Linked DNA regions of Homo sapiens: region 1 is linked to region 2. Evidence: promoter capture Hi-C in human tissues and cell types (Jung and others, 2019). All regions are on one chromosome and are shown on one strand. The core of a region is centred on a gene start or on the middle of the fragment in contact, and the rest is flanking DNA. Distances in the headings are between cores, read along the strand shown. Region 1 holds the start of ADIPOR2 (adiponectin receptor 2). Region 2 holds the start of LRTM2 (leucine rich repeat transmembrane protein 2).

Region 1 (2,700 bases), core at 119-2,618, 130 kb before region 2:
TGTCTTCCTTGATTTCAACCTCAAAAGCTTTACATCTTTACCTGGGAACATAGAAGTCATTATTATTATGTCTTTCACAAATTATGTAAACTTAAAAAAATTATATTTTCAATGTAAACCACTCCTTGGAGGAAATTAGTTCCTTTAACATTTATTTCCTAATTTTAATTTCTACTAGTTTTATCTCTTTCAAGCTTAAATGAGTGGGCCTTAGTTCTGTATTATTGCCATCTTAATCATGTTCTTTGTGATTTTAGTAGCTTTACTTTTTAAAACTTACATTTCCATAATGAAGACTTCTGTATTTTTGTTTTTTTCGTCATATATCCGACTCCAGCTCCCTCAAGACCTGTCAGCTTTTCCCTGCACCCTTTGTTATCTCTTGCTGTGGTCCAAAGGTAAGGACAGTAAGCCGTGGGCACAGACTTTCCCTAAATCGTATGGATTTCCTTTAGTCAATAACAAGAATTTTGATAGTTAAGGCATTTACGCCTTAAGAATGTGATAAATTCCCCCTCCTACTGAATGTAAAGAACTATTTTTCTACGCAGACTAACTCTTATATTCACTTTTCTTATAGAATAAGTACGTAACCAAATCTGTTCTTGGCTTCTAAGAAGTTAGAACTCAACGTAAAGATGACTTGTGGAAAATTACTTACTCATTCTGGGTAAATGGACGCAGGTATTTAGTGCTTAAGTAGGTTCTGATATACCATTACATTAACATCATTTTAAAAATCGCTCTGAATTATATGTATTTTAAGAGTGACTGGGTTTTAAAAAAAATAGAAGTGGTAGAGCATAAATCATAATCTTTAATAAGGTAATAAAAGGCAAACACTATTGCTCTGGGCAAAACTGGGCTAATGCTTTTGGATTTCTTTCCGCAGTCTTCACAGACGACGCTCAGCATCCTATCAGCCCTTGGCAGAGACACACGATCCAGCCTAAATCCTCAAATTCTGGCTCTTGCCCAAAGTGTGTAGCCAGTATCCATAGAGACTGCGAAAAGCATCCGCGAGCCGGGGCGGCCCCCTCCTCCTCAGCTCCAAATTGCTTCCTTTTTCGGTGGGAGAAAAAACTCCGAGGAGTTGTGTGAGCGCCTAAGGAGCGCACGCTCCTCCGGCCCTCAACACCCAGTATAGTTTTCGCTAAGTTCCTGGCCGAACCACAGCTCCCACGATGCACCCAGGTTTTAGAGCGGTCAGAGGGGCGGCTTCCGGTTTAGGACAGCGCGGCTGCGCACGGCGTGTGGTCTTATTGGCTCGAACCGCCTCGTGCGATGCGCGTCACGGCGACGTGCGGTCGTGGGGGCGGGGAGACGCGGCGGCGGCGGTCGCTGTCGCGGCGGCGAGAGCGCGATTCCAGAAGCGGCATCGCGGCGGCGGCAGCGGCGGCGGCTACACCGGGCTTGGCCCCCTCCCTCCTCCGTTCCCCCCTCCTCCCCCCTCCCCTCAGCGGTGGCTCCCAAGAAGTCCGAGACACGCGGTGAGGCGGCGACGGGCTCCGGGTGAGGGTCTCTGGAGTGTGGGCGCCGTTTCCTGGGCGCAGAGGGAGAGCTTGGGGTCGGGGGGAGGTGAGAGCTGAGGGGCGAATGTCCCTGGCGCGGGCGGGAGAGCGCGCTCTCGGCCCGGCCCGCAACTTGATTCCTAACTCTGACCTGCCGCCCGGCGCGCCTTGGCCTGAGGGTCGGCCGTGTGGGGACCTGGAGCCGCCCTCCTTGCGACCGCTGTCGGAGGAGTCCGGCGCCCGCTGTTCCCCTCGCCTCGCCTTTCGCGGCGGAGGGTCGGAGCCTGCTGCCCTCTGCTCACCTTCGGGTGCAGTTGCTCCAGCTCCCTGCCCGCGGAGAGGATCTGCCCGCCCCTCTTCGTCTCTTGTCTGTTTTTATCACTTCTAGGAATTTGTTTGGTGGAGGCTTGGGATGGGCTCTCTCAGCGCTACTTTCACAGTGACTGGGGTGGGGAAGAGTTCCCTCACCTTTTTCAGGTGGCGCGTCAGGCAGCCTGCTTGGTACCTGGAGTCCTGTTTTCCCAAGCCCCCGTCCGTCAGTGTTCGCTTCTTCTAAAATTACCGATGACAGGGTTATAAATCAGTTTTTAGGGGGCTCGGAGAGAGTTTGGGTTGGAAACTGTTAGCTCTTTTTTCCTCCTGGCTTTTGATCTTGATTTAAGCGTTTGCCTCTGAAATTTTGACAACTTCATAAGATGGTCCAAAAGTGAATTTTGGTAGAAAGATTTAAATGCACAGTTGGGATTTTATGGGGGTACGGTGACTTCATTGCAGGTTGTTGACTTTTTTTTTAAAATAAGATGTTCTTTTAATTTTTTGACTCTGGGTTTCTGAGCCTTGGTTATTGTCCCCCATTTCTGTTCCAAAAGCAGACTTTTTTTTTTTTTATCACCCCTTCCCCTCACCCAGAGAATCCCTTTAAACGCCAAGAAAGCTGTCATAACATTTAGCATTATTTGATCACAGAACTTTTCCAAATGAAATGCTAAAAATTCCTTCAGAAAAAAGCATCCATCTACCCATAGCATTATTTTTTGGGGGGAGGCTATACGTCTTGTCAGTTCTGAAAGTTTGAAGTGACCTCTTATCAAAGGCCACCCTTATGTCTCCTTAAACGACTCTTAGGTAATTCCTAGATGTTTTCATCCGTTCTGATAAATTTGTTGTCAGAGTGTTGATTGTGATGATC
Region 2 (2,700 bases), core at 85-2,584:
CAGGAAGTATGTTTATGGGGAGGTGGGAGCCTCTTTTGCTTGACAGTGGGATGTGTGGGAGGCACCAGCATGAGAGGTCAGAGGCGGGACTCCCCAGAGGTAAAAGACACTGCAGCTCAAGCCTTGTGCTGCCCGGGGACCCGGCAGAACGGACAGAAGGGAGTGAGCAGGAGCATCCTTCTAGGGGCATCCTGAGTCCAGGGGGTTCTTCTACACCCACCCCAGTCCTGGCTGTGAACCCCTCCAGCAAAGCAGGCAAAATGGAAGAGGGACATAGGACACGGTGATATATCGCTAGCACGGTGCTTCATCTGTCTACAGGCAGTGGACGCAAAGGAAGGGGGATTTAGGGTTCGTGCTCCAGGCTGGTGGGGCCCTGGCTCCCCTCTAGCTTGGTCCCTGACTCACTTGGCCTTCAGATCAGCCACTTCCCATCTCTTAGGATATCAATTTTTCTGACTTGCTTTGTCCTGATTGGTTAAGAAAGAGGCCTCCAAGTTCTTGAATGACAGTCTCTTCCCTTCGCATGCCTGACCCATCACAGATAAGAGCAAGGAGCCCTGAGAAGCCAAGCTCGTCCCTGGCACTGAGAACGGTCTGCAGGCTGCTGCTGCAGGCTGCCCTGTGCCCAAACTCCCAGCCTGCCAACTCTGGCATTCTGCTTCCCTAAGTAGTCCTGGCGTCGGGTGGTCAGACCCTGAGGCTCAGTGACCTCTGCATGACCATGTGATCCCTGGCTTTGTGGGGGCTCAGGGCCCTTTCCTGTAGGGTCATCTGGCACATGGACATGCCTGTGTACCCTTCTTTCGTATGACCGAGAGAAGGGTTCGGTTTTTCCTTCTCTCAGGCAGGATGGGAGACTCTGCCTCGCATGTCTCTAAAACAGGAGAAAGACCAGCTTCCCAGGGGGGCCTCCATCGGAACAGAAGTCAGCCGCTTGCTCTGTGTCTGCGCCTGTCCCTCTTTCCCCAGATGGAGGGGAAGAGAGGAGAGAGGCACAGAAGACAGGTGCAGCCGGGGGGGTGAGGGAGAGCCTGGAGGCGCAGGATGGAAGATGGAGGTGGTGGTGAAACCGCTTTCCTCCTCCCTGTGGTCGGCAGCGATTCATCCACAGGCGCCTTTTTCCACTGAAATGTGAGCGTGGCCAGGGTGAGCGCTGCCCTCGCGGCCGGCCGTGGTGCCTCTGGTGTGCGCCTGTGTGTGCTGCTGCCGCTGTCATCACAGATGCACCCCAGCTGTCACTCCCCGCTCCACTCTGGCTCGCTGCTCGCGCACACGCGTGCGCTCTCCTCCCTCGCCCCTTTCTTCCCTCTCTCCTCTCTCTCTCTCCCTCCATCCCTCTCTTTCCTTCTCAGTTTGTGACTGACCCAGCAGCCCCGTCCCCCGTCTGCCACAAGCAGTCCACCTCCTGGTGCTGTGTGCTGCGTGCCAGCCGCTGCTCCCGCTGAGTGGAGACTCTGGCACCAGTGCCCACTGCGCTCTGCCTGCCGGTGGTGTCTGGATTTCTATAGGAATCCCAGGAGGGTCTTACTGGAGGGTTGAGAGCCACCTGATTGAAGGCGTTTGCAGTCAGAGTAAAGACGGGTGAGTACCGAGTGGCTGGTAGGAAGGAATGGAGGGTTGGTGGGGACAGGGGGTGGTCGGGGCATGGGAAGTGGGCACCGGCCATCTCTGCCCTGCAGGAATAGCTGCAGTTGCTTCCTACCTGCAGGCAATTGCTGGGGCCGAAGAAGCTGCTCGGGCTCAGGCACCTGAGCATCCCAAAGGTGCACGACACTGGGAACTCTGAGCCCACAGTGCTGGGGACAAGAGCTGTGGATTCTGCTGGGAAGTGGGGAGGAGGGCAGCGCTGGCGCCAGATGACAGTCCCGGGTGGCATAGAAACCGGTCCCTGCAGCATGGGAGAAGCAGCCAAGAGCCTTGTGCTGTCGTTGTGCCCGGCTCTGCACAGACAGCCCCAAGAAACTCGGGGGTCATGGGAAGCGGTTGGGATGGCAGTCAGGTGCTGGGGACAGGGCCAGGTCAGAGGAAGGCTTGGGGTGGAGGGTGGCAGGGAGGAGGTCCTGGATGTCAGAGGCATGGGCACAGACCCAGGTCCTGGGCCTCCCTATAGCTTGCCTGCAGGTGGCTGTCCTTGGACAAGGGTGTGGAGGAACCCTCCCCCAGATGAGCATGGGCCCACTCAGCTGTGCATGAAGCCTCCCTGGTGAGGGTGAGGCTGGGAGTGGGCAGGAGAGAGAAGTATCGCAGCCCTTCCCTGCTAGCCCAAGGGCAAGACAGGAGAACCAGGCCCGCGAGAACCTGCTGGGGTGTCCCGCAGCTGTGCACCCAGCCGTCCATCTGCAAATGGGTCAGGGAGCCTTAGTGGGGGCTGGACACTGAGCTTGGGTGGGGGGTACACAGCGGGGCCAGGCCTGCCTGGCTTCTTGACCCACACAGGGGGCATGGACACCCTGAGTAGAGCGGGACAGTTGCTCTCAATCCCCCAGACCCATTTGGACAGTGCTGGAGAGAGGAGCAGCCTGACCAGGAGTCGGAAGTTCACATTCCTGCACCTCCCTGCAGGTCTGGGGCTGGGTTCCAGTTGGCGGCCCTGTCTCTCCCCCACCCCCAAGCTGTCCACATTTCTGGGGGGTGTTGGCACCCGGCTGTCAGGGCTACTTGGGCAGTGTCTCTTTGTGACTCAGATGACACCCCTGC

Evidence for each region. The method cuts DNA at HindIII sites, captures the fragments that hold promoters and counts their contacts. A contact is called where the count stands out against the background at its distance.
Region 1: a contact is called between the fragment with the promoter of ADIPOR2 here and the fragment with the promoter of LRTM2 in region 2, in 2 of the 25 tissues and cell types used here (mesendoderm cells and pancreas).

Annotation. Positions count from the first base shown.
Region 1 is chr12:1,689,702-1,692,401 of GRCh38, forward strand. It overlaps ADIPOR2 (adiponectin receptor 2), which reads left to right and starts at 1,369. Exons shown (of 8, transcript NM_024551.3): 1 at 1,369-1,490. RefSeq lists enhancers at 872-1,031, 1,052-1,101, 1,185-1,763 and silencers at 1,262-1,561, 1,582-1,671. The HindIII fragment of the contact is 10,259 bases long and covers 1-2,546 here.
Region 2 is chr12:1,819,231-1,821,930 of GRCh38, forward strand. LRTM2 (leucine rich repeat transmembrane protein 2) reads left to right here and starts at 1,335. Exons shown (of 5, transcript NM_001039029.3): 1 at 1,335-1,584. The region is part of intron 26 of CACNA2D4 (calcium voltage-gated channel auxiliary subunit alpha2delta 4); the gene reads right to left. RefSeq lists an enhancer at 905-1,651. The HindIII fragment of the contact is 8,239 bases long and covers 1-2,700 here.